7 separate regions of the Homo sapiens genome follow, and all the other regions are linked to region 1. Evidence: promoter capture Hi-C in 16 types of primary human blood cells and fetal thymus (Javierre and others, 2016). All regions are on one chromosome and are shown on one strand. The core of a region is centred on a gene start or on the middle of the fragment in contact, and the rest is flanking DNA. Distances in the headings are between cores, read along the strand shown. Region 1 holds the start of ZCWPW2 (zinc finger CW-type and PWWP domain containing 2). Region 2 overlaps SLC4A7 (solute carrier family 4 member 7). Region 3 overlaps SLC4A7 (solute carrier family 4 member 7). Region 4 overlaps SLC4A7 (solute carrier family 4 member 7). Region 5 has its middle 18 kb from the start of SLC4A7. Region 6 has its middle 49 kb from the start of SLC4A7. Region 7 has its middle 110 kb from the start of SLC4A7.

The links. The method cuts DNA at HindIII sites, captures the fragments that hold promoters and counts their contacts. A CHiCAGO score of 5 or more calls a contact.
Region 2: a fragment that was not itself captured here is called in contact with the fragment with the promoter of ZCWPW2 in region 1 in 8 of 17 cell types (total CD8 T cells, activated CD4 T cells, total CD4 T cells and 5 more); the score reaches 8.6 in total CD8 T cells.
Region 3: a contact is called between a fragment that was not itself captured here and the fragment with the promoter of ZCWPW2 in region 1, in 3 of 17 cell types (total B cells, naive B cells and non-activated CD4 T cells). The highest score is 7.1, in total B cells.
Region 4: a fragment that was not itself captured here is called in contact with the fragment with the promoter of ZCWPW2 in region 1 in 3 of 17 cell types (naive CD4 T cells, naive CD8 T cells and naive B cells); the score reaches 5.9 in naive CD4 T cells.
Region 5: a fragment that was not itself captured here is called in contact with the fragment with the promoter of ZCWPW2 in region 1 in 1 of 17 cell types (naive CD8 T cells); the score reaches 5.4 in naive CD8 T cells.
Region 6: a contact is called between a fragment that was not itself captured here and the fragment with the promoter of ZCWPW2 in region 1, in 1 of 17 cell types (monocytes). The highest score is 7.6, in monocytes.
Region 7: a contact is called between a fragment that was not itself captured here and the fragment with the promoter of ZCWPW2 in region 1, in 5 of 17 cell types (non-activated CD4 T cells, monocytes, naive CD8 T cells and 2 more). The highest score is 7.6, in non-activated CD4 T cells.

The regions. Positions count from the first base shown.
Region 1 is chr3:28,346,799-28,350,744 of GRCh38, reverse strand. ZCWPW2 (zinc finger CW-type and PWWP domain containing 2) reads right to left here and starts at 2,024. Exons shown (of 10, transcript NM_001040432.4): 1 at 1,542-2,024. AZI2 (5-azacytidine induced 2) reads left to right here and starts at 1,921. Exons shown (of 8, transcript NM_022461.5): 1 at 1,921-2,144. RefSeq lists enhancers at 1,315-1,394, 1,433-1,727, 827-1,807, 1,995-2,054. The HindIII fragment of the contact is 7,230 bases long and covers 1-3,946 here.
Region 2 is chr3:27,393,930-27,397,875 of GRCh38, reverse strand. It overlaps SLC4A7 (solute carrier family 4 member 7), which reads left to right. Exons shown (of 26, transcript NM_001321103.2): 18 at 79-192; 19 at 2,761-2,922; 20 at 3,107-3,358. Among named protein-coding and RNA genes, the nearest start is that of NEK10, 27 kb to the right of the region's middle. The HindIII fragment of the contact is 601 bases long and covers 1,759-2,359 here.
Region 3 is chr3:27,422,584-27,426,529 of GRCh38, reverse strand. It overlaps SLC4A7 (solute carrier family 4 member 7), which reads left to right. Exons shown (of 26, transcript NM_001321103.2): 8 at 2,378-2,493. Among named protein-coding and RNA genes, the nearest start is that of NEK10, 55 kb to the right of the region's middle. The HindIII fragment of the contact is 6,675 bases long and covers 1-3,946 here.
Region 4 is chr3:27,448,634-27,452,579 of GRCh38, reverse strand. SLC4A7 (solute carrier family 4 member 7) reads left to right here. Exons shown (of 26, transcript NM_001321103.2): 2 at 82-163; 3 at 3,783-3,929. Among named protein-coding and RNA genes, the nearest start is that of SLC4A7, 34 kb to the left of the region's middle. The HindIII fragment of the contact is 350 bases long and covers 1,512-1,861 here.
Region 5 is chr3:27,500,036-27,503,981 of GRCh38, reverse strand. No RefSeq gene overlaps it. Among named protein-coding and RNA genes, the nearest start is that of SLC4A7, 18 kb to the right of the region's middle. The HindIII fragment of the contact is 3,495 bases long and covers 244-3,738 here.
Region 6 is chr3:27,531,749-27,535,694 of GRCh38, reverse strand. No RefSeq gene overlaps it. Among named protein-coding and RNA genes, the nearest start is that of SLC4A7, 49 kb to the right of the region's middle. RefSeq lists a silencer at 1,543-1,837 and enhancers at 1,205-2,148, 2,149-3,091. The HindIII fragment of the contact is 3,030 bases long and covers 269-3,298 here.
Region 7 is chr3:27,589,527-27,593,472 of GRCh38, reverse strand. No RefSeq gene overlaps it. Among named protein-coding and RNA genes, the nearest start is that of SLC4A7, 110 kb to the right of the region's middle. The HindIII fragment of the contact is 187 bases long and covers 2,003-2,189 here.

The DNA.
Region 1 (3,946 bases), core at 775-3,274:
ATACATGATTATATATGAACTGTGTAACAAGTTTTCTCTAACAATTTATTTTATTTGAGAAAGTTAATTGAAGCAGATACAGGGTGGAAAGTGACCATTTGCAGCTAAATCCAATGACTATACGGATTATATTTTGTCATAATCTAGCAGGGGTTCTACAACCCAAAAAGAAAAACTAAGATGTTTTACTTGACTAAAATAATAAAATTTGTACATCCTGGTTAAGCAAATACATTTCTTAATAAACCCATTATATGTTAATAAACCCACTGTGTAGTGTGCACTGTGAAACAAAAATTGACTCTCTCACCAGATAAACTTCAAAATACTGATTTATGACATTTTATCTTTACTTACTCAGAAAGAAAAGATAAAAATGATGTCCCCTGCCTTTTCAACAATTCTTAAATTATTTTAAATTGTGAACGAAGATTCAAAAATATTTCTACACCTTCAAATTAAAAACCAGGTTACCACTTTATTTCTAATAACTTGTGATGCCTCAACCAATTTTGCTAGCATTCTTCAAAACTCTACTTGTAAAAACATACACCTAATGGTTGTTTTAAATTGAAAATTCTCAAAATGCATCATGGAAGCAATAAAAAAATTTAAGGACTGATACTTGCTCAAAATATTAAAAACACTGCTCTCTTCCATTCTCCAGCCCAGTAAATTGAAGCAAATCGTTTCCTTTCTCAACGATAACATTAACACAGATTTCTAAGTATTTTTAGAAATGTCATAAAACTTCAACTTGTGGTCTTTGTTCCTAACAGCTATAAATTTTCACTTAAATCTAAACCAAAAAAGACAATAAAAAAACCAACAACAATAAAAACGAATTTTCATATAAACCCTTGAGTGAAATCCATCCTATTGGGCTGACAGTTGGGCTGATAGTTAAGCGGACAGATGACAAAATACTACTTTAAGGGGGTGGTGAGTAATGTCCGTATTGCTAATCGGCGGTTAGTGACGTTAAATTTTCTATAATTATTGTTCCTTGTTTATTTGTTTATTTAACCAATAATACCTTAGAGTTACAGGGGTTCCACCTGGCTGCGACCTTCAATGACTAATTAATTCAACTACTTGTGACTCCACAGCTAGGGACGGTCTATCATCTAGAAATAACCAAGGTGGTGGCAACTCCAGGGAAGCCGGGCGCAACTCCAGTACTCTGGCATCTTCTCCCTGTCTCTCATTCCATAAATTGAGCAGTGTGCTAGAAGTCGTGGTGTCGTTTGTGAATAATTACAGACCCCTACGCAATTCGTCGAGCTTGTGCCTCAAGTGATCGCCTGAGGGCTTGCAAGTAGTTTAGAAAACAGAGGCTACAGAGGAACGGCTTCTAACAGACTTCCCAGTTCCCAGCCACGTCAGCTCGTAAGCCTGTAACAGCGCTACTGAGCCGAGCCAGCACGCACCACACGGCCCGGGGACCCCCCAAAAGGACACTGAGTGAAAAAGACGCACCAGAGGGCGCCCCTGAAGGGGGACCTCGGCCCAACAGACAAGACGGCTGGTAACGCTCTTACCTAACTCCACTCCGCCTCCGCCTCCTGGCGTCCCGCGGCCCCGCCCCGTCCCGCCGCGGAGGCTCACGGGACATGTAGTACGCCGCGCGCCACTCCTGCACTTCCCCACCCCCACGACCGAACCTGGCTTCGCTAACGCCCTCCCAGCTCCCTCGGGCCTGACTTCCGGTTTCCTCGCGCGTCCCTGGCGCCGAGCCCGCGGACAGCGGCAGCCCCTTTTCCGGCTGAGAGCTCATCCACACTTCCAATCACTTTCCGGAGTGCTTCCCCTCCCTCCGGCCCGTGCTGGTCCCGACGGCGGGCCTGGGTCTCGCGCGCGTATTGCTGGGTAACGGGCCTTCTCTCGCGTCGGCCCGGCCCCTCCTGCCTCGGCTCGTCCCTCCTTCCAGAACGTCCCGGGCTCCTGCCGAGTCAGAAGAAATGGGACTCCCTCCGCGACGTGCCCGGAGCAGCTCCCTTCGCTGTGGAAGCGGCGGTGTCTTCGAAGAAACCGGAAGCCCGTGGTGACCCCTGGCGACCCGGTTTGTTTTCGGTCCGTTTCCAAACACTAAGGAATCGAAACTCGGCGGCCTTGGGGGCGGCCCTACGTAGCCTGGCTTCTGGGTGAGTGACTCGCCAGGGACGGGTGGAGGATAGGGATGCGGGCAATGCCGCGGCCAACCTCCGTAGCTGTTGCCGGTCCAAAAAGACACGTCATTTTTTTCTCACTCCCTCCCGCGCCCCCTCCTTTGACTAGGGAGCGGCCCACTCCTGGGCATCCCTTTCCCCAGTCACCCCCACACCCAGCTGTCCACACCCTTTCCCCTGTCACCCTCACCCCCAGCTGTCCAGGCCCTTCTTGGTCATTCACTTCTCTAATTACTCCTTTTCTTTTCGTACTCTTACTGGGGCGCCTTCAGTTTTTTTTCATTCATTGAGACTGCTAAATGCTTCTTTCCGATACAAATTATCGGAAAGAAAAGAGGGACATTGGCTAGGACGGTACTCCCTGGGGCATCTGAGTGGTGAATATCGACCCCCTGCACTTGATCGAGGGCTAACAGGTATTCGTCGTTTCTCCAATGTCTAACCTGTATACGGTATTCATTCCAGCCTTCGGCTGTTTGTTGAGTAACTACTACTACGTGCAAGGTAGGCTGACACCCTCTACACAAAAGAAACCCCAATACTCGAAAGCGAGATAAAATACCCACGAAAACTCTAGTACAAATCAAACCATCAGTTGCTCCAAGAGGTGATGGAAATTTGCTAAGGTGATCAAAGACAGACGTACCAGAATTAAAATTGACCCTTGCGCCTTATGTGTAGAAGACATTTTGGTTTTTAGATTGGAATTTCAAATTGGATTGAGCAAGATCTCAAGGCAGAATTTCATTTCTCTAAAAACGCCATATCTCATTGCCCAATCTTGTGATCATTTCATCATCTGTAAATTGAGAACAGTGCATCCTTTACAGGATATTTCCAAATTTTAATGTGATATTGTTTGTAAGCCAGACATCTTACGCAAGTAGAAGGTTTTAATATTAAAGAGACAGCATAACATAATGGGAAATGACACTGGATTAGGTCAGAACACCAGTATCTGAATGCTGATTTTTCCATTTACTTGACAATGGGTAAGAGGCTAAACTTTTTCTTCATTTTCCTTATCTCTGAAATGGGTGTAATACATACTCTAAGGCACCAAAGCATAGTTTCTAAGAGTTATGCTGGCTCTGGAGTCAGCTGCCTGATTTTCATTTCTGGCTCCCCTACTTTCTAATGTTTTCATGTCTCAATTTCTCCACCTGTAATCTGAGGAGATTCTTTACAACCTCAGAGGTATTACATAGATTTACTGAATGCTTATGAAGAACAAATGAGATAGTTTCTCCAAAAGGTGAAGCACACTGCTTGGTATACCATAAACGCTTGGCTACTATTAATTACCAATGCAGAACCTTGTCATTATTATTAAGTAAAATGCTGAAGTTTTTTTTATAATCCATGAAGTAATAGAACCAATCTTTTTCTTTTTTATGGCACTTATATTCAGAGTGCAAGTATAGTTGCCTTATCACTGTTAGAAAATAATTTTCAATAACACCAGTAACATTGAATGTATAGTAGATGCTTAGTTGCATTAGAGGTATTACTGTATGAAAGGGATGAAAAGAAGTAGACTGCTCTTCATACCTATGCTAACTCTGGAAGAGTCTTGATCTGTGCAATACAAACTGATTTCTGGACTAACGCAGTTTGTTGGATAACTCAAGAGTCATAAAAATGGAACTGGAGTTTTTCTTCATATTGTATATCTAATGTTGAGTACATTTTTGGACATTTATTGAATTACAGGGCTTTTTATTGCTAATGTACACAGATTAAGAGATGATGTTTTGAAAAGAGGTACTTGATGACCC
Region 2 (3,946 bases), core at 810-3,309, 950 kb after region 1:
ATCAATAAAAGATGTGAATTATTTAGAAAGAACACATAGTATTTCTGTGTTTATATTAACATAATCCCTTTAACATAGGTGCGATCGACAATCAGTGATTTTGCTGTATTTCTCACAATAGTAATAATGGTTACAATTGACTACCTTGTAGGAGTTCCATCTCCTAAACTTCATGTTCCTGAAAAATTTGAGGTAAGGATTAAAACAAGTGGCTATTTGTTACTTGGGAATACCACACTACTTTAAAGCAAGATACTATTTTCTCAGTAGTTATTGTTTTAAAAGTATGTAGTCTCTTTGAAGGGCTGATGCTTTGAAAGGAAATAATTTATATGTGTTTTTCATATGTATATAAACAATGACAATATGGACAGAAAAGAGACATGTGAACTTAAAAGTATCACCGCTGGTCCATTAGAGAGAGTGAATGAAAATATTTGTGGTAAGATGTAGGGAGCCATTAAAAAAAAAAAAAAGTCTTTGCTCTCCTACCTGGAGTTCTTGCTGTACCTTCCAGGGAGAAGGAAACAGCCTTTATTTTTTTATAAAGAAGTAACCCAGGCCAGGTGCAGTGGCTTGTGCCTGTAATCCCAGCACTTTGGGAGGCCGAGGCAGGTGGATCACTTGAGGTCAGGAGTTCAAGACCAGCCTGGCCAACATGGTGTACTAAAAATACAAAAATTAGCCAGGCGTGGTGGCGGGCGCCTGTAATCCCGCTACTCGGGAGGCTGAGGCAGGAGAATCGCTTGAACCCAGGAGGCGGAGGTTGCAGTGAGCTGCGACCATGCCATTGCACTCCAGACTGGGCAATAAGAGGGGAACTCCATCTCAAAAAAAAAAAGTAACCTAAAATTCAATTTTCTAGGAGTGGCAGAGAGGGTCTAGTTAAATTTCTAGAAGGGTAGTATATCTGACAGTAGTTGGAAAATTCCATGTAACAATTTCCAGTAGCATAAGGAGAAAACGAAGTGTGTTCTATAAGAAAAATGATCTGAGCATCCATTTGAATTTTCTGCTTTCATTAGCAGATTTGAATATATTCATTTTCCTTCTGCTCTGTTTTTGTTTTCTTCCATCCTCCTTTGCTTATGCTAAAAGGAAAGACATTGTGAATAGTGTCACTGGTTATATTTAATTTAACAAGTTATATGACTTCTTTCAGAAGCAGCTGGTTTAAAGGGGATCCGAAATAAGGAATATAATGAAGATCATTTTATTTTATATTATAAAATCTAATTTTATAATATTGCACTGAGACCAAAATGTTATTTTTAAAATCAGTGGTCTTTAAAGTAGGGTACACAGGTGGAAAATGATCTGCCAACAATTTTTAGAAAGTCTTATGTTTTTAATGTAAAAATATGAAAATATTAAACTTTAGGTTTATTTTATGAGAATATATAAATAAATGAAACTATGAATTAATATTGGTTCAAAACGTGATGTAATTTCCTGTAATCCTGGCCTAAGTTCCTTATTCTGATTCTTAAATATGTCCTTGTTATTTATTTACTGATATGGCTTTCAGGTAATAGGCTGATTTCAAGGGGCATAAAATATACTTGAGGAAGCAAATCAAGGAACTCTTAAGAGTAAATGGCATTGTATAAGTAGAATAAAATATTTTTGTTCATACACAACATTGAGTGTGAGGTAGTTTAATATATATTAGTGTGGAAAGATTGAATTACCTGAACTTTGAAAGTATTAAATTTCCCTTTTATATTGACAAATGTTTTCATGAAGAAGAAACAAGCTTAATACCAAGTTGAGGTAATAAAAACATATGTTTAGGTTTCTATATATGCAGTATTCTCCCAAACATACTAAACTCTCTTGATCTTTAAAAAAAAATTGCTATAAAATCTTACATTGTACTGTCAAAATGTATTAGTATCTCATAAAGTGCCAGATTTTTGTTAGTAGTTCCTTTGGAAATACCATGTATTGTGGACCAGTTCTGATTTAGTACTGACCCTGTCAAAATCACTAAGTCTGCAGGACTAGACTAAAGCAGTTTAGTTTAGGAGTTTAGTGGATAGATTGATTTCACCTTATATGAATTATGCAGGAACATGTGGAAATGACATTCCAGTTTGCTTATCAATTTCTACATAACAAACTTTTGAATAACAGCCCTTTATTTGTTTATAATTCTGTGGCAGTTGAGACTAGGCTTAGCTGGTTTGTGGTCTGCTCTGTGGGGTGCAGTCATCAATGGGGGCAATATGCCTTCATTCATATGTCTGAGGCCTCAGCTCAGATGGATGAAACAGCTGGAATAGTTGCCTGGGGAACCGCCCCCGACACCCACTACCATATAGACTATATTGAGGATAGTCTTATCCTCAAGAAAGCTTATCTAGGCTTACTCGACAGCGTAATAATCTCAGGGTTCAAAGCAGGTTAGAGAAGAAGCTGCAAGGTTCTTTAAGGTTAAGACTTAGAAATCACATAGTGTCACTTTGGCCTTATTCTGTGGGTTAAAGTAAGTCACAGGGTCATCCTGGTTTCAGGGGGGAAGGAGGCAGACTCCACCTCTAGGTGGAAAGATTGACTGAGTCAAATGACAGGAGGTATAGTTATAGGGATAGGAAGAATTACTGTGGCCATCTTTGAAAATAATTCACCATGTAGTTCAAGATTTAAGTTATTTCCCATTCGTTGGGTATTTCTTGGAACAGATCAAGTCTATGTTATGGAAATTTAGTGCAATACAGCAAGGAGACTTTTTGAAAATTATATTTAATTTTTTAACAGCCTACTCATCCAGAGAGAGGGTGGATCATAAGCCCACTGGGAGATAATCCTTGGTGGACCTTATTAATAGCTGCTATTCCTGCTTTGCTTTGTACCATTCTCATCTTTATGGATCAACAAATCACAGCTGTAATTATAAACAGAAAGGAACACAAATTGAAGGTAATTTTAGAATTTTGCCTTAAGCATTGTGATTCTTCAAGGGTTTGAGCTGTTTTTGTAATGATTAGAACATTAAAAGATGTAAGATGAAAATTAGCTTCTTCCCTCTTTATAATTCGTGTAGAATTTTAAATTGAGGGAACCATTTAGACTTACAGATATTTATGTTCATTTCACTTTTCAGAAAGGAGCTGGCTATCACCTTGATTTGCTCATGGTTGGCGTTATGTTGGGAGTTTGCTCTGTCATGGGACTTCCATGGTTTGTGGCTGCAACAGTGTTGTCAATAAGTCATGTCAACAGCTTAAAAGTTGAATCTGAATGTTCTGCTCCAGGGGAACAACCCAAGTTTTTGGGAATTCGTGAACAGCGGGTTACAGGGCTAATGATTTTTATTCTAATGGGCCTCTCTGTGTTCATGACTTCAGTCCTAAAGGTAAAATTTCTTTATTGCCGTGTTTTACAATCTTATTATAACATTTATACTTAGTTATGTGAACATGAAACATTAAAATATACTTAAAATACCTAAAATTAGGTTTGTTTTCCACAGTTTACTTGGGAAATAATTTCATTAGGTTTTTAGTATAGCAAGCATTTCAGTGGTAAGCTGTATATATTTTTAAAATAATGTATACCAGGTGTAGTGGCTTACGCCTGTAATCCCAGCAATTTGGGAGGCCAAGGAAGGAGGATTGCTTGAGGCCAGGTGTTCAAGACCAGCCTGGGCAACATAATGAGACCCTGTCTCTATAAAAATAAAAATAATTAGCCAGGTATGGTGGCATGCTCCCGTGGTGCCAGCTGCTCAGGAGGCTGAGGTGGGAGGATCGCTTGAACCTGGGAGGTCAAGGCTGCAGTGAGCCGTGATTGGGCCACTGCACTCCAACCTGGGTGACAAAGTGAGATCCTGTCTCAAAAAACAAAAAAAATTATAATATGGCAAATATATGTATAAAACGCTCATAAATAAAAGTATTTGTGGGGGAGGGGAAATGACCTCAGTAATTTTTAAGAGTATAAA
Region 3 (3,946 bases), core at 423-2,922, 920 kb after region 1:
CTTTTGATGATATATATACACAGGTGGAATACATTTAGCCTTTGGAAGTATGTAATGCTCAGCTGCGTTTGCCACCAGGGCCAAATGGTACTCTCAGTTTTCTTGTGTGGAAGTAGTTGGAAGTCACTGAAAAACACTGGTTAACTTTTTATCTCTTGAGCAAGGAAGGGACTCTTCTGGAAGTTTAGGGACAAAGGTCAAAGAAGAGGAATCTTCTTGGTGTGCCAAGCTAAGGTTGTAAGAAATGAGTTGAGGCTTGGGAAATCGTTTGTATTTCGGAATTGTTTAACTTTTCCAGAAAGTGAGCACATGGCTAAATAGATTGCAAATTAAGATTTTTCGTCACATCAACATTGTAGTTTAGGTATTTACAGAGAAGTGACGATGACAGCAGTCTCTGTCATAAAGCGTAAGCCGTAAACCCAGATGACTTAGTTTCAGTATTCATTGGTTATAGTATATTCTGTTTTACAAAAGTGAAAACTCCTTTAGATGTGTCAGGTATATCTGATGTACTTTAAATTCTGGAACTTGATTACCAGTACATCTTCAGAGCTTATAGAATCTAACCACAAAACAGATTTTAACTGAACTTCCATGTGTTGCTGTGCATGGGACAGTTAAAACAAAAAGTAAAGTCTGTTGTATTTCAGTACCTTTTCCTCCTATAATGTTCAGTGTTTTAGGAATTATTAGTCTATATTCTTGCACTAGAAAACCTTGGATGTTTTGAAAAAAATGAGATGCATTTAATATTAGGTTGGAGCAAAGGAAATTGCACCAACCTAGTAGTAGAAATCTGTGTAGTGTACTTGAATTTAAATTTTTTTTTTTTTTTTTTTTTTTTTTTTTTGAGACAGAGTTTTGCTCTTGTTGCCCAGGCTGGAGTGCAATGGTGCAATCTTGGCTCACTGCAACCTCTGCCTCCTGGGTTCAAGCAATTCTCCTGCCTCAGCCTCCCGAGTAGCTGGGATTACAGGCATGCTCCACCACGCCAGGCTAATTTTGTAGTTTTAGTAGAGAGGGTGTTTCTCCATGTTGGTCAGGCTGGTCTCGAACTCCCAGCCTCAGGTGATCCGTCCGCCTTGACCTTCCAAAGTGCTGGGATTACAGGGGTGAGCCACAGCGCCTGGCCCTTTTTTTTTTTTTTTTTTTTTTTAGGACGGAGTTTCTCTCTCGTTGCCCAGGCTGGAGTGCAATGGTGCAATCTTGGCTCACTGCAACCTCCGCCTCCTGGGTTCAATCGATTCTCCTGCCTCAACCTCCCAAATAGCTGGGACTACAGGCACACGCCATCACGCCCGGCTTATTTTGTATTTTTAGTAGAGATGGGGTTTCACCATGTTAGCCAGACTGGTCTTGAACTCCTGACCTCAGGTGATCCACCCACCTCTGCCTCCCAGAGTGCTGGGATTACAGGCATGAGCCACTGCACCCGGCTGAATTTGAAATTTTTTAAATTTTAACTTTTTTGCAGAATTAGAATTCATAGTGTTAATGATTAGTCTCATATTAAGCTGTGTTTTTATTATTGCGAAATGTTGGTGTTGAATGTCACTTTTGAAATGAATATACTAATGCTTCAATATGTGTCTGTCCTTTGAAATCCAAACAAGTATCATTTCTAATCCAAATAAGCTATTTTTATGAGTTTGTCTGACTCTTAGAGATGGAGTGAGTTTCTTACAGTCACATAGATACAAAGTGGCAGAGAGTGCATAATTTAAACACAGATCCCTTTGGTTATAAAACTCTTACTCTGCCAATTTCATTGCAAAAAACTTGCTTGTTATATTTTAAAGTTGGATTTCTTAGGAGTAATGACAATAGGTATTATAGACATAAATGTTAACAAAGAAAAATGAAAAGTCTTTAGGAAACTTCTGATTATGGGAGATTATGTTAATTCAATCTGCATTTAGTTAGTGTAGCTTTTTTCTGAGTTACACTTAGGGTTTGTCAGAGAATTTATTGTTGAAAGCATGCTAAGTACAGCTAGGCTTCATTAAGTTCCATGCATTTCACATGTTTATGATAATTAAAAGTATATTCCCTAAGTATTTTTAATGATAATCAGACTCAGGTCTTCCATCTTTTGTGGTTCACACCAACTCACGTTTTATTTCTTTTTGCAAAAGGCCACAATTTTTGTAAATTCTAATTGTATTATTTTAAATATTAAAATGTATAGCTTTGGTATTGCTTAAAATGTTGTTCTAGTTTTGCTGGTATGTTACTAACACCGGGCACTTATTTTTTTTAACCTTGCACATTTGCTTTTATAATATTCATAAATCATCACTTTCAGAATGTGAGCAGAATCAGGTTGCAAAGTGAATTTTCTCCTTACTAATTTGGAATTTGTCTTTAAACATAGGTATTTTGGCCTCTCCCCAGTCTGCTCCTGGAAACTTGGACAATAGTAAAAGTGGAGAAATTAAAGGTAATGGAAGTGGTGGAAGCAGAGAAAATAGTACTGTTGACTTCAGCAAGGTAATTCTATCATTAACTGAAAATTCTCATAATTATTCTTACTGAGGAAATAAGTAGTAATTTGTGGCTAATATTATTAACATTGATGATAGTAATTTTTTAGTAGACTGGTGCTTACAAACCTGCATGTGATGTCTGTGATATGTTAATTTAAGGTAAAAACTGTGAGAAGGGTTACAGTTAACCTGTGAGTACTTGAATAACTTTACACCATTACTAGTGTTAGAAATTCTGAAAAAGAATATGTGAATAATACGATATTTCCATCCATACCTACCCATAGATATCGTGAAACGTCAGTACTTTTTGAACTACAGTCATTTGTTCTGGAGCTACCACCACTAGAACGTTAATTCTGGGAGTGATGTTACAGCACTAATGATTCAGTCTTTCCTGGGCTGTAATGCGATCCCAGAATTACTGTCTTATGGTGTCAGTACTTTTGGAATGTCACTGAGAAATATATTGGTGCTTCCCCATGGGTAGGTTAAAGGCATGGATTACAAAAAAATACCTATGTGAACTATGATTTTTTTATTTTGGTAAATGAGTATTTTGTTGAAATAGATAAACCTTAATTTAAAAGAACAGGGCAAAAGACTACTAAGTTCAAATTGTAACTGAATGTAAAATGTACTTTATGAGTATTTCTTATGAACAATTGATTCTATCTAGCCACTAATTTTTTAGTAGTATTAATTTGCTATAGTAAAATACCAGATGCTCATGGTATTTTAATATTTTTGTATCCAGTATAAGACTTTTTAATAAATGTAATTATGTCAAGCTGATTTCATTTCTTAAGCCTTTTAGTCTTTGATGAAAAGTCTACAAGATATATTTTACAGAAAAGGAGTTTAAATGGTTTGCATTATAGCTTTGTTGAGTGTTGTAGTCTAAAACTATAGGAAGCCTAGCATTACGGACATTGGCTGTGCAGAAAGGCTGTTGTATTTTAAATTTTTCTGATCTATCCTGATCACATTTTACTGGTGCTCATGTTATTTCAGATAGTGCAAAGTACTTAGTAACAAAATTGCAATTTATTTCTTGTTAAATGAATAAATTAATATAATTTACATTATAGAGTTCCTCTAGGCATGGCAGTTGCCGTTTATTTTTGTTCCTCTGTCACAGTCTTACTTTTTTTTACTTGGCCTATCTTTGTGTATACTTCCTTGTCTCCTGTTGGGCAGGAGTCTGCCTCCTGGCACTGTAGTTGTGGCACACTGGGTGTGGGACTCAAGAGGCCCGCTGTAAGTGCTGGTTTTACTTTTCATAGATAGCCCTGTAAGTGGTTGTTTAGTGACTTGTGTGAAACTGCATATAAATGAAGTTCACATAATTTGGTATCATGTGTAACCTTTTCCTTGTAATTATACACAGAAAGCTAAATTTTACTATTATAGCATTATCATATATCTGTGCCAATAAGGGCTATAGATTTTTGTTT
Region 4 (3,946 bases), core at 437-2,936, 900 kb after region 1:
TGTTGCCATTTCAAAGGATGCATATAATAGGTCCTCAATAGATTGTGATCTCATGAGTCAATGAGAATAATTTGTTTTTAGGGTCCTGATGAAGAAGCTGTTGTGGATCTTGGCAAAACTAGCTCAACTGTGAACACCAAGTTTGAAAAAGAAGAACTAGAAAGTAAGTTGGTTTAAAATAACTTACTTCGCTTAGTAGGATAATTTACTAATTAATGTTTTTAAGTATCCTTTTAAGTTTTACCTAGTATTTGTTGAGTTTTTTTGTTATTGTTGTAAGGTAAAGCGTACATTGAGAAGAGTGCCATTTGAAAGTATTGGCAAAAGATAGAGTTCATAATGCTTCTCAAAATTTAGTGATGGTTACCATTAATTACCTTAACTTGGAAAACTGAAAGGACACAGTCACAAAATTAGTTAACTCTTATTTTTTTCATTTCTAGCAGGCTGAGTAATTTGTGTTATGAGTACACTAGAGTGCCAGACTAATAAACCACAGTTATCATTAATTGTCATCTCAACATTCATTTTATAGGTGTTACATTAGCCTTTTAAAATGTTGCAATAACCTCTCCATAGAGTTGTAGAGCAACTGAGTTATTTGCCCATCTTTCTTCCTTAGACAGGAAGAAGTCCTGGCAAATGGTTTCTTTTCTTTTGAAAATAATTTTAGATTTACAGAATAGCTGCAAAGACAGCACATAGTTCCTCCATACACTTCACCCAGTTTCTCCTAATGTTAACATTTTGCGCAGCCATCATACATTTGTGTAAATGAAGAAATTAACATTGGTTAATTACAAATTTAATTAGAATCTGACTAATTACTAGTTTACTGTTAAACCACAGATTTTATTTAGGCTTCACTAGTTTTTCCACTAATGGCCTTTTTCTGTTCTAGGATTCAGTTGATCCAGTTGAGGATCTGTAACAGTACATTTAGTTGCAAGTCTCCTCAGTCTCCTAATCTATACCAGTTTCTCATTCTTTTTTTGTTTTTCATGACCTTAACACTTTTGAAGAGTAGTGGTTAGATATTTTGTACAGTGTTTCTCAGTTTGGGTTTAGTCTGATGTTTTGGCATGAGTAGGTGGAGGTTATGGTTATTTGGGAAGCATACCACAGAAGTAATGTTCCCTTTTCAGTGCACCATATCTGTGGACAATATGATATCAACATGACTTATTATTGATGATGTTAACTATGAACATGTGGTTAAAGTGGTGTTTAAGGCAAATATTTTGATAGACATTTTTGGGGGATGTTTATAGGAACTACATCCTTAAGTTAAACTCTTCTGTGAGAGCTAGTACTATATTGAGTTATTGTTTATTTTAATAAAAAAGAGATGGACAGAGAAACAAAGTTTGATTTATGTTGTAAATGTTTTCATTTATATTCTAAGACTTTTTTTTAAACTCTAAACGATTTTTTTTTTTAACTCTAAAAATTGGCTTTAAGAGCCTAGGCTTGTTAGGGTTTCCAAAAAGAACCTCAGTTATCTAGAAGCTTATGGTTAGATCCTGTGAATTATAGGAGCTAGGGAGGTTAAAATTTTTAGCGGTAATTTTACTAATTCAAATGTACAGTCATACATTTAATGTTTAATGTCAACCCTCACCTATACATAACCTGGATATTCCTTCGATTCCTTTGGTTATCACAGGCCCTAAGCTCTGCATACTTTGTACACATCTTCAAGTTTGGTATCAAGTTTGAGGGAGAGATTAAGTTTAAGAGAGTTTGAGTAAATAGGCTTTTGATAGAATAAAGTAAGGGCAGAAGAAAAAGGAAAGAAAAAGAAAAAGATTAAAACAGAGGACACTAGAGGCAATAGTAAAAGAAGAAAACACAATAAGCTTAATCTACCAATCTTTGGATTCTAGCGTGTTTTTATTTATTTTATCTATCCCTTTCTTTCTAAACTGCACACTCATAGCATTTATTTTTATCTTGGTGCATTGGGGCTTCTGTGCCAAGACCCATTAGTACTAATTGGAGGAACAACTTTGTAATTCCCAGTGCAGTGATGGGAATTTGACTCTTTAATTTCCACTTTTCTTTATGTTTTGAAGGAAATAGTTTCATTAAAATAAAATTGAGTTTTTTTATATTTATTTCTTATTACTTTTTAAATGAGATTCACATAACATAAAATTAACCATTTAAATTACACACTTTTTTAAATGTATTCACTATATTATGCAACCAACACCACTGTCTAATTCTCGAAACATATCTATAATTCCAAAAATAAACCCTGTATAATTAGCTTTTACATTTGGAATTTTTGTTTTCTAGTAGTTGAGATTTAATTCCATAGACATTTATCGAGTACTTACCATGTGCTAGGCTGAGTACTGGGAGAAGTTTAAACAAATAGTTCAGTATGTTTTGTTAAGTTGTCCCTCTTTTAATTTAAAAGGTGATTATTTATGAGGTTAATATATTGGCAGCTGAAATAAGATGTCAGAGTATCACATTTTTAAGCCTTACCTGGGAACATGAGTGTCAGGCAACTCAAATTTTATGCTGCTCTGTGCCTGTCCGAAAAATGGCATGAAATCTCCCTAAGTATTGATTTTGTGGTTACAAGTAAATGTTAGTGAGTCAGCAACTTCGCAAATATGGAATCCCATGAATAATGAGGATCAACTGTACTTTCAAGTCACATATAAAGATGGCAGTCCTAAGTTTCTTGAAATACTTATTTTCTGAGCATTTTATGGAATTTTTAGGAAAGGAATGTCATTAATCATTTGTATTTCAGCCTATTAACTTTTTAAATTGTGTACATAGTTGCAGATTAGTTGACCTTGTACTTCACATCCCTCTTCACTCAACACTCATTTGATATTTGACATAGTGCTCCTAGCTCTGTAGCTTTCCTGATTCAGTTTCATCTAGTGGTCAAAAACAGACTGCCTTTCATAACTATTTTGTTATTATACTGCAAAGTTAGGATAATGCAATATCAGCAGTAGCTTTTTCTAGTTTAAAAGCATGCAATAACTTTACTTACTGCTTTTTTATTTAATCTGACAGTTTCTAACCTTTATTTGGATTATTTACATTTAATGTAGCTCTCAGTAATTTGGACTTTATTTTTATTTTGGTCTTTATTGATTTTTTTTTCAAAACTCAAAAATTAGTAAATAAATATTTGTAAATATTTATACATTATATTTATTATAAAGTAATTGTTACTAAAATGTTATTTATATATTATATTTATTATAAAGTATTTAATTGTTATTAAAATATATCTCTTAAGGACCTCTACTAACTATGGTTGGCCATAAATGTAGATGGAATAAATATATGTCTACATAGTATGATCTCAGATGGGCTAAGCTCTTCTTTCTTAAGATATCTTTTTAGGCCAGGTGCGGTGGCTCATACCTGTAATCCCAGCACTTTGGGAGGCTGAGGTGGGCGGATCAGGAGGTCAGGAGTTCAAGACCAGCCTGACCAACATGGTGAAACCCCATCTCTACTAAAAATACAAAAACAAAAACAAAACAAAAAAAAAGATATCTTTTTAGATGTGCAAATACTTACATAAGTGATTTGTAGATTTAGTGTAATCATCTGTCAGTGATATTAGCCCTGGGCACAATATTCTGTGTAGTGCTTTATAAAATAAGAGAAGTAACTGGAGACTACCATTGTTAATTACGTGAACTTATATTCTTTATCAGAGTAGATTTTGGAGTACTTTTGTATATATCACTTTTTTCTCTTTTGGAAAGCTAGTAATATGTTTCTGAACCTTTTAATAGGTCATAGAGCTGTATATATTGGTGTTCACGTCCCGTTTAGTAAAGAGAGTCGTCGGCGTCATAGGCATCGCGGACACAAACATCACCACCGGAGAAGAAAAGATAAAGAATCAGATAAAGAAGATGGACGGGAATCTCCTTCTTATGGTAAGAGAAAACAGTTC
Region 5 (3,946 bases), core at 742-3,241, 850 kb after region 1:
CTTTGGAACTTTTGAGAAAGTCACTCCTTTGTTTAACAGTTTTTTGAGCATCTACTATGTGCCAGATTCTGGTGTTAAGCAGTGAATTATTCAGACAAGACTGGAAAATCTATTCTTGGAATTACTTTGGAGTGGACTTACTTTTTGAAAGTAGCCAGAAGTCTCTGGGGATCACATTTGGCGAATAAAGTGCACTATAAAGCTAAATAATAGCAATCATATGACTTGAGACTAAAATAAGCTTTATAACAATGAAACCACAAATTAAACATATTGGGTTTCTTGGCCGGGCATGGTGGCTCATGCCTGTAATCCCAGAAATTTGGGAAGCTGAGCAGGGTGAATCACCTCAGGTCAGGAATTCGAGACCAGCCTTGCCAACATGGTGAAACCCTATCCCTACTAAAAACACAAAAATTAGTCCGGGCGCAATGGCTCATGCCTGTAATCCCAGCACTTTGGGAGGCCGAGGCAGGCGGATCATGAGGTCAAGAGTTCAAGACCAGCCTGGCCAACATGGTGAAACCCCATCTCTACTAAGAATACAAAAATTAGCCGGGCATGGTGGCAGATGCCTGAGGTGGGAGAATCACTTGAATCCAGGAGGCGGAGGTTGTAGTGAGCCAAGATCATGCCACTTCCTTCCAGCCTGGGCCACAGAGCGAGACTCCGTCTCAAAAAAACACAACAAAAAATTAGCCAGGTGTGGTGGCGCACTCCTGTACTCCCAGCTACTTGGGAGGCTGGGGCAGGAGAATCGCTTAAAGCTGGGGAGGTGGAGGTTGCAGTGAACCAAGATTGCACCACTGCACTTCAGCCTGGGTGGCAGAGTGATACTCCACCTCAAAAAAAAAAAAAAAAAAAATATATATATATATATATGGGGTCCTTATATGAATTTATAAAATTATTTTAAACAAACATTGAAAATTATTTCTTTCCTTTTTTTTTTTTGAAACGGAGTCTCACTCTCTCGCTCAGGATGGAGTGAGTGGTGCGATCTCAGCTCACCACAACCTCCGCCTCCTGGGTTCAAGCAATTCTCCTGTCTCAGCTCCCCGAGTAGCTGGGATTATAGGTGCATGTCACCATGCCCAGCTAATTTTTGTACTTTTTAGTAGAGATGGGAGTTTCACCATGTTGGACAGGCTGGTCTCAAACTCCAGACCTTGTGATCCACTTGCCTCGGCCTCCCAAAGTGCTGGGATTACAAACGTGAGCCACAGCACCTGGCCAAAAATTATTTCTTAATAAATGTAGAGTATCCCAAGGTTACTACCTTGATGCAGAAATTACAATTTAAATGTAGAAGTTCTATAGTAAATATCTTTTTTTAAAAAAAAAACTTTTTTTGGTCAGTTCCATTTTTCTATATTGTCATTTCTATTTTCTTTCTTTTTTTTTTTTTTGAGTCACAGACTTGCTTTGTTGCCCAGGCTGGAGTGCAGTGGCGAGATCTCAGCTCACTGCAAACTCTGCCTCCTGGGTTCAAGTGATTCTCCTGTCTCAGCCTCCTGAGTAGCTGGGATTACAGGTGCCCACCACCACACCCAGCTAATTTTTGTATTTTTAGTATAGATGGGTTTTCGCTATGTTGGCCAGGCTGGTCTCGAACTCCTGACCTCAAGTGATCCCCCCCACCACCTTGGCCTCCCAAAGTGCTGGGATTACAGGCGTGTGCCACCACACCCGGCCTGGTTTTTTATTTTCTTAAACATTACTTTTTCACATAATCCCAGACACAAAAGGAATCTGCAGCTGGCCAGAATGTGGTTATTAGGAATAACCTATTTCCACAATCACATTATTCTCATAATTTCCACCATGACTTGTTTGCTGATTTATTGGAGCTTCCAAATTATGATTTTGTTCATTTCTTGAATCCTTGTGATAATCTATTTATTTTGCAATACCTTCTCTATCTAGGCCAGACACAGGCTTATTAGCTGTGTTACCTTAACTTCTTTATGCCTCAGCTTCCTCATAGGATTGTAGTGAGGACTAAGGAATTAACATATGCAAAGACCTTAGCGTACTGCTTGGCATATGGTAAATGCCACACAAGAACTTTATTATAGGCCGGGGTGTGTTGGTTTATCCCTGTAATCCCAGCAGTTTGGGAGGCGAGGTGGGAGGATTGCTTGAGACCAGGAATTGAAGACCAGCCAGGCAATATAGCAAGACCCTGTTTCTACAAAAACATATTTAAAAATTAGCCAGGTGTGGTGGCATGTGCCAGTAGTTCTAACCACTTGGGAGGCTAAGGCGGGAGGATCGCTTCAGCCTAGAAGCGCAAGGCTGCAGTGACCTATGATTGTGTCACTGCACACTACTCTGTTGTCCAGGGGAGTGCAGTGGCTCGATTTCAGCTCACTGCAACCTCCGCTTCCTAGGTTTAAGCAATTCTCCTGCCTCAGCCTCCCAAGTAGCTGGGATTACAGGCACGTGCCACCACACCTGGATAATTTTGTATTTTGGGTAGAGATAGGGTTTCACCCTGTTGGCCAGGCTGGTCTCGAACTCCTGACCTCAAGTGATCCACCTGCCTTGGCCTCCCAAAGTGCCAGGGTTACAGGTCTGAGCCATCATGCCTGGTCCCAATAATTATTATTATCTGGCCTTATGCATCTAGGTCAGAGGTAAACAAAGTTTTTCTCAGAAGGGCCACATAGTAGATATTTTAGGCTTTATAGGTTAGATGATCTCTGTCACAACTATTCAACTCCACCATTGTAACACCAAAGTCAGCCTTAAATAATACATAAGTGAATGAGCATGGATGTGTTCCAATAAAACTTTATAAAAACAGGCAGCTGGTCAGTTTTGGCCCATGGGCTGTCATTTGCTGATCCCTGACTAGGCCTTTTCAACTAAGGTTTGCATGTGGATGGCTGGGAAAGGCTTAGCCAGGAGTCAAGAATGGAGGAGCAACAGGACCCCAGTCATCTGAAGCCCAGGTCACAGTAGTAACAGGCCTCTGTAGATATTATGGCCAAAAGTAAGGGCAGAGTTGGCATCCCCATGGACAGTGGAGGTAGTGGTGCTGACAGGCTACAGCTGGAAAACAGGAAGATGACTCCATGTATTTCACTTTCCAGAATTAGTTTTGTCCTGACAAATTGATTCAGTGAGCATTTTATAAACACCTACTCAGTGCCTATGTATGTAGAAGTTTACTGTTGATCTACCTACGCAAATGCCATATTTCAACCAGCTAATATTCAGTAGCCATCTCTAATTTAATTATTAAAAACTAGAGAAAGGTTTTTGAGGGTGTTGCAGTCCCCAGATTTCTATAACATTTTTTTTTTTTTTAATGAGATGGCGTTTTGCTCTTGTTGCCCAGGCTGGAGTGCAATGGTGCCATCTCGGCTCACTGCAACCTTTGCCTCTCGGGTTCAAGAGATTCTCCTGTCTCAGCCTCCTGAGTAGCTGGGATTACAGGTGCATGCCACCACACCTGGCTAATTTTTGTATTTTTAGTAGAGATGGAGTTTCATCATATTGGTCAGGCTCATCTCGAACTCCTGACCTCAAGTGATCCACTTGCCTCGGCCTCCCAAAGTGCTAGGATTACAGGAATGAGCCACTGTGCCCAGCCTACATTCTTTATTCTTACAGTTTTTGGTGAACCTAAGTAATAAGAGAAACTGGAACCTATTTAGTTATACTGGCCCCTGACCTGTTTGGCAATTACTTCCCTCAGGACTGGCCTCAAAGGAACCAGAAAGTTAAGCTTCATGTGATTGCCTAAGTAGAGATAGTAAAGTAGATCTAGACAGATATATACTTGTTTTCTCTATGAATTTGATGTCTTAATGCATTTGGCAGTCAGCATGTCTTGTTTTGCAACAGTCTGCCAGTTTTGTGTGGCACTCTCCTTAAGATAACAAGATTTCCATGCTTGAGTACCAGATAGTCTGGATTCACATTGTACTTTTCAGGG
Region 6 (3,946 bases), core at 534-3,033, 810 kb after region 1:
AGAATGCTTTGAATCAAATAATACTTCTTCCTTCCGCTGTGTCTGTGCCAACAGTGGCAGCTGAGTTCATTTTCATTACCTCAGCATTGTTACCAAGAGTTTAAATAGGTTGACTAACATTTGGAACACCAGGACAGAGGCTCTGTTTTTCTGGGCTTTGTAAAATACCTAATATAGTGACAATATGTGGGCATACAGATATATTGTAATTATATACTAGAAATGACACAGAGTACCTAGACTCCTCTGGGTAGAAAAAAGCCAAGCTTTGATTTCCACACTCAAACCAGCTGAAAAGTCAGAGCTTTTTTTCATTTGTAATTCCTCACTTTCTGAAAGCAAACTGAAATGCCTGTGGCCAAATGCCTTCTCTGAGTCAAATCCAGGTTGAGTCCTCCATGAGCTCAAAACCTGCTCTGTGTGTGTGTGTGTGTGTGTGTGTGTGTGTGTGTGTGTGTGGTCATCTTGATTTCTTTCAACCATCTTAAATGGCTTGATTTATTGCCCAATGTCACTGAAATAAAAACTAGCCGTTAGGGTAGCCCAAATTGTCAAATCACTGGTTTTCAAGCTGCTGTTTTTTGGTTCCTGGTCCTGGCATGACACCGTGACTTTATAGAACATTCTCCATTGTAGAATTCTGGGTGGTCTTGAGGTCCTTTCCCAGTACTAAACGGTACCAGGCATAGCACCAATGGGAGGAACATCAGGAAGATGTCCTTTTTTTTTTTCTTTTTTTTTTTTCTGAGACAGAGTCTCACTCTGTCTCCCAGGCTGGAGTGCAATGGTGCTATCTCGGCTCACCGCAACCTCCACCTCCCAGGTTCAAGTGATTTTCCTGCCTCAGCCTCCTGAGTAGCTGGGATTACAGGCGTATGCCACTACACCTGGCTAATTTTTGTATTTTTAGTAGAGACGGGGTTTCACCATGTTGGTCAGGCTGGTCTCGAACTCCTGAACTTGTGATCTGCCTGCCTTGGCCTCCCAAAGTGCCGGGATTACAGGCGTGAGCCACCGCACCCGGCCGGAAGATGTCATTTCAAAGCCATGTTGTTCTTTCAGATTCTAGAGTTGATGGTTAACACTGGCAGTCCCTCCTGACTGCCCTCCCGACGCACACTCCCAGGCTAATGAGGAAAAGTCCTAGAGAGCAGCATCAGATGCTTGTTCATGTATAGAGTTTGGTCAACATCACCAGCCCCGGCCCTCCTCTAGCTGACAAACAGGCAGTTGTCTATTTTGGCTTTGACTAGACTCTACTTCCGTTTACCTCAGTCATATCCTTTTTAGATTTGTTTCTCTCCCTTCCCCCACCTTCCTCTTTCCCACTGTTATTTATAAACGTTATACACTTGTTTACAGAGAAAAGAACAAACTTTAAAATTAATTGTTGATACAATTGCCAAATGAATAATGTCCAGGTGTCCGCTTTTAAGCATCACAGGCATCTCTAGTCATCGCTTTTTAGTTGTTACCCTAGGATTGAGAAGACCAACAGCAGGAAAGGTGGTGACTCACACTCAGAACCCAAAAAACAAACACCCACTAATGACTCACACCCTGGAACCAGGGAGATTTTGAGACTTTCTTTTGCTGAAAAAATGCATATGCAAACAACATTCCCATCACCAGGAGGCCAAGCTGGCTCTTCCTGCACGGAATGGGGCTCTGCTGAGGTGGCTGCGAGTCAGGGATGTGTCACCGACCCAGGGATGGAGTTTACTGGGTTAGTAGATGGAGGGCAGCTAAAACTAGAATTTCTTCTTTGCTTTTTTCCAAATGCCTGCTGGAGAAAATCCGATGTATCCTGTGTGAGTCAGTTGTGAGTGTATCTGCTGGGATAAGGGCAAGTTAAGTCACCACTCTCCATCCCCTCTGCTTGTTTTAATTGTGATTTTAATTAGCACGCAGGTCATCTGAGCAGAGGTGTGGCCTTTCATCTGAATGTGGATTTTCTGTCTGTGTGGTCCTTGATTGGCTACTTGGATCTTATAATGATAAAAGAATTTTTAAAGTACCTTTTCTTTCCAAAGTTTAGGGCTTTACTGAACTTTAAATATAAACTTAGGGCCCTCTGTTTATATTTAGATAAAAAAAGAATTGTGAAGATAAAGGATCTTTTGTGGCAAAGTGCTTTGAAACCCTGAGATGAAAGGGAACCCGTAAAGAGAAATTAACCTCATTTATTTTTTAAGCAGCATTTTGCTGCGTGTGTGGACAAATGTAATTTGAGGCAGCTTGAATTAAGAGCCTTGTCTTCACTCCACTCATAACCCTCCCTGTCTCCAACTGAGTCGAAGCACCTCTTTTTTCTTTCACTTCTCTATTCCTCAAGCCAGAGCTTGTCTGGTAGGGAAGGCAAATTCAGGCTTGTAATCCATCCTCTCCCCCCAGGTCTGACTACTCCCTGGCTGGACTTCCGCAGGGGCACCCAGTCCCCTTTGTGGAAGATCCAAAGCTCAACACAGAAAGGGAAAAGCAAGATGTGTGGAGTGGGAGACTTGCTTGGCTTTGCTTCCATTACTTTTGAGAACTCTCATTACATTCCTGAATCCACTGATGCATAGGTGGCAAAGCATTCAAAAGCGCTTTGGGGCAAGACTACTATTTAACTGAGACACACTGGTACCACCACGCCTATTACTAAAATATTAAAATATTTATATTTTGATTTGTAAATAGCCATTGCCCATGCCTTCACCATTGTCAAATATTTTTAATTGTACCAATTGTTTGTAAGCTAGGAGAGGGTTTACCTTCTTAGTTTCACACAGTGTTTAGCCTATCTTGTATATACTAATATGCATATTATGCATAGTATTTGAAATGCATATACTAATTGGTTAGGGGAAGAGAATGCAAAATTCCAGCTGCGTTTTTAGGCTGTCAGGGTAGTGAGAGACCAGTTTGGAGTCTCCCTACAAACTGTATTTGAGTGCTTCTAAGACAGAATTTAGAACTCGAGTTCTCCCATTCATTCTCTTTGGGATTCTGAACCAAGGGAGGGCACACAAAAGGATCGGTGACTGGATAGGAAACAATACCCTTCTACTTAGGAAGCACCAGCTGAAGGCCTAATAACCTCTGGGAGTCTGTGCTGGAGGCAAGGCCCAGGCCTGGGGCTAAAGTTCTCTACTTTCCAATCCGGAGATTCTCAGAGACCCTGTTCCGGGTGCAGAGATACTGAGACACAGGGGGCCAACGTTCCTGAGCCCACCACTTTAAGGCAAGTGGCCTGGCCAGAGAAAAATGGTCCAGTTCACCCAAGTGCTAGAAATACAGGAGAAAGAATGAAGCTTGGTCTCTGCTTTTGAGGTACACCCCCAAAATGTGGCCCCATTAATGTCTCAGATTTTGACCAACCACAACTTTTCTTCTGGTCGGTAAGAATGGAGGATGAGACCCTATTGAGAAAGCCCAAACATTGAAGCGGTGGCCTGCCCCTCCACACCTGTGGGTATATCTCGTCAGGTGGGAAGAGAGACTGAGTAAAGAAATAAGACACAGAGACAAAGTATAGAGAAACAACAGTGGGCCCAGGAGACCGGCACTCAGCATACCAAGGACCTACACAGGCACTGGTCTCTGAGTTCCCTCAGTTTTTATTGATTACTATTTTCACTATCTCAGCAAGAGGAATGTGGTAGGAGAGCAGAGTGATAATAAGGAGAGGATCAGCAAGAAAATATGTGAGCCAAGGAATCTGTGTCACAATTAAGTTTAAGGAGAGGTACTATGCCTAGATGTGCACGTAGGCCAGAGTTATGTTTCTATCCGCCCAAACATTTCAGTGGAGTAAAGAATAACAAAGCAGCATTGCTGCCAACATGTCTCGCCTTCTGCCATAGGGCGGTTTTTCTCCTATCTCGGAATTGAACAAATGTACAATCGGGTTTTATACCGAGACATTCAGTTCCCGGTGCAGGCAGGAGACAGTGGCCTTCCT
Region 7 (3,946 bases), core at 847-3,346, 760 kb after region 1:
ACATGGTTTATTTAACAGTTTGAAAATGACACAAGCTTGCTCCAAAGTGAGCACGAATCTCCTCATTGAAAAGCTAGCTTACTTTTGGAAGCAGTCACGTGATGTGATGTTCTTGCTAGTAAGCATAATAATGTTGAAAAAAAAGGTTTCTCACTTTCTTAGCAGCATTACTTATTATGCACCAAATTTCAAATATATATTTATCATGTGCTTAGATTAAATGTATTAAAAGCTACTATGTCATCAATACTCTAAATTTCTTCTGCAAAAATATAAATGTTTATTTATAAGTATATTTATAAGCATGTTTACTTATGTTTATAAGTATATTTATATTAATGTATAATACATAATATCATATACTATATATGTTATTATATATACATACATAAAACTGTATTTTTTATATATATAAACACACACACACATACAATTTTGCATAGCCCAATGAAAAGCCTAGAATAGCTACTTCTTTTGAGCCACAAAGATGTTGGGGGAAATATAAATGTTTCTACTGATTCAAGTATTTCATTATTTCTTTTTTTTTTTTTTTTTTTTTTTGAGGTGGAGTCTTGCTCTTGTTGCCCAGGCTGGAGTGCAATTGCACAATCTCAGCTCACTGCAACCTCCGCCTACTAGGTTCAAGCAATTCTCCTGCCTCAGCCTCCCAAGTAGCTGAGATTACAGGCATTCACCACCATGCCTGGCTAATTTTTGTATTTTTATTAGAGATGGGGTTTCACCATGTTGTCCAGGCTGGTCTTGAACTCCTGACCTCGTGATCTGCCTGCCTCGGCCTCCCAAAGTGCTGGGATTGCAGGCGTGAGCCACTGTGCCTGGCTCTTTTTTATTTTCTTATTTTCTTTTGAGACAGAATTTCACTCTTGTCACCTAGGCTGGAGTACAATGGCGTGATCTCAGCTCTCTGCAACCTCTGCCTCCCAGGGTTCAAGTGATTCTTCTTCCTCAGCATCTCAAGTAGCTGGGATTACAGGCGTGCACCACCATGCCCAGCTAAATTTTTTTTGTATTTTTAGTAGAGATGGGGTTTCGCCATGTTGGCCAGGTTAGTCTCAAACTCCTGACCTCAAGTGATTTGCCCACCTTGGCCTCCAAAAGTGCTGGGATTACAGGTGTGAGCCACCACGCCCAGCCAGGTGTGGATTTTCAAAAACAGCAAAATCTGTGGGAATCTAGTATTTCTCTCTAGATGAAGTAATGTCATTGAATATAATTTAAGTTGTAGTGTAATTAAAGATGGTATAAATGGCTCTATTCTTCCCATGCTGACATTTTATCCCAAGCCCTTTCTTCGGGCATCATTGGTCAATGATTTATGGGTTTTCCATGGCTTCCATATCTTGTCTATCACCAACTGGTTTCTGAGACATGAGTGGTTTACCCCGGAAGTGATTATTCAAATTCTGTGGCTGCTGGGCTTTGTTCTTACATCTAATGTATTCAGCTAGATTCTGCTCCAGGAAGAGATAACAAAAATTACTGAAACAATTTGTAAGATGCAGCCAGCTGCATATTGACCTTCAACTCCCACGAGTGTCCCTGCCAAAATGATACAGTTACTTAATTTCCAGAGTCAAAATTATCAATAAAGCCCAAAGGCTTTCTCTCAATAGACAATGGGTATGTGTTTCGGTGTTTGGGTGTGGATGTGTGTTTGTGTGTCACAAAGAGAGAGACTTTCACTCAAAAGACAAGGTATGTGTGCATGAGTACATGTGTATTAGAGAAAGAAAGAGAGAAAGAGAGCAATGAAGACAGAGCACAGCTTTGTTAGAATGGTGAGGGGAGACCCAATGTTAGTTTGCTTCCAGGACTTGATGGAGATTATTGGTTTTTCTTTGAAAGCCCATTCCTCAGCCTAGGTAAAAGCTTTTCCTAGTAGACCGTGATTCATTAACATCCTGTCCTTCTGGGGAGGAAAAGACACGAAAATTTAAGGCAAGATTCCAGGCTGGAAAAGAGCTGTTGTTGAGACAAAGCTTTGATGGAAGGTGAAAGCAGGCCTGGAACCATGTGTGTCATAGTGATTATTTTTTATGGCTCAACGTCAAAATGCCTCTGCTACTTGTTAGTTTGGGGTTTGGTGGGACAGAAAAGAGGAAGGCTATGAGGAGAGTAAGGAACAAAGAGGGAGAGTTTGCAGAAAAATTTTTAGAGCAATTGAAGCTTGATAATACTGGATGTGTCCTGCCTTTTCTGTTGTTGCTTTCATTTGTTGAAGCATTTCATAAGTAGATCACATGTTCACAATAGAAAAGTGAATCTATTATGCAAAATGTCCCAGTTGGAAACTCGTAAGTTCTGAAGGGAAAATACTCTTTTTCAGCTTAATTCCCACTGGCAAAATTTCATACAAACAGACTGCTGTGTGACTGTTTGGAACTGTTGACTAAACCAAGCTCTAAGGGAAATGAAAGTATCCTTTCGTCTGTGCACAACCACTTCTTTATTTTTCCCTTTGCCATTTACCAACTTAATGCATCTGTGTTGACAGCTAAAGACTGATGATTAAATTAGACAACAGTTCCTATTACATTTTAAGATTATGTTAAACACTTGAACATATTGCAATTCTCTAAGGCTGAAATGACTCCTGTAATCTTTCATCAAGATTTATAATCACTATTTCCTTCACTGACAGTATCAAAAAGCTACAGTGGTCAGGGAATGTTCCAGCCACATTGGCAAGAGGATATGATTATATTCTCCAGTGGAAGTTGTAACTTCCGGTTGCCTTTTTCCCTGTGAAAACAATGATTTCCGGTTACCTTCAAGGGTACTGTGACTTTATGACACATCACTTCAGAAAACCAGCTCTGTGGTTGTTGAAGGTGACCCAGGAGAGATGATGAATTTCTCTTTCTTTGGAAATCAGATTTTTCTCTCCTCGAAGACAGAAGAGGAAGTAACATTCTAGGCCAGCACCCATTATTGTGCAAGAAGACTTGGATTTTATCAAAAGTGATGATTAATTGAATTTACATCTCTCAGCATGCACCTCCCACTCCAGGACTGATTTTTGTTTTTCTTTACAGAAAATTTATTTCTCCTTCTTCAACCTTGCATTGTGCATATAGCCATTGAAAACAAAACAGTCACCAGTGTTTTCCATGAAGGCTTTTGCTGAAAAAGAAATCAGCCTCTTCACACTTTTATGTTATCAACAGAGAAGAAAAGAGATGAGAAAGCCAGAAAGATGAATAGCATTCCTATCTTTCTCATTCTTGCTTTTCTTCTCCTGTTAGTGTTCATTCTTTGGCTCTTCTGTTTTTACTTTTTGCTGCATTTATATCTTCTTTTTTGTTTTCTATCCCTTTACTTTGCTTTCCCTTCCCAACCCACACACCTCCTTTGCTCAGGAGGAAATCTCCTCTCCTGGGAGGAGCAAAGAGATAGAATAGAGAAAAAGCATGCAGTAACAGCAATGGAATTCTAATGTTCTCACTCATATGTGGGAGCTAAAAAGTTGAGCTCACAGAAATAGAGTAGAATTGTGGTTACTATGGGCTAGGAAGGGTGGGGGATGGGAGATAGAGATTGGATACGGAATACAAAAGGACAGATAGATAGGAAGAGTAAGCTCTAGTGCTCTATAGAACTATAGGGTGACAATAGTTAACAATAACTTATTGTATATTTTCAAATAGCTAAAAGAGAAGATTTTGCATGTTTCTCTTTTTTTGACATAGAGCTTCGTTCTGTCGCTGGGATTACCAGCATGAGGTATGGCACCCTGTGGATTTTGAATGTTTCCAAAACAAAGAAATGATAAATGTTTTGAAGTAATAGATACACTAATGAACCTGATTTAATCATTACACATTGTATACAGATATCAAAATGTCACGTCGTACCTATAAATATGTACATTATTCCATGTTAATTAAAAATAAAATAAAGCCAGGCACAGCGACTCATGCCTGTA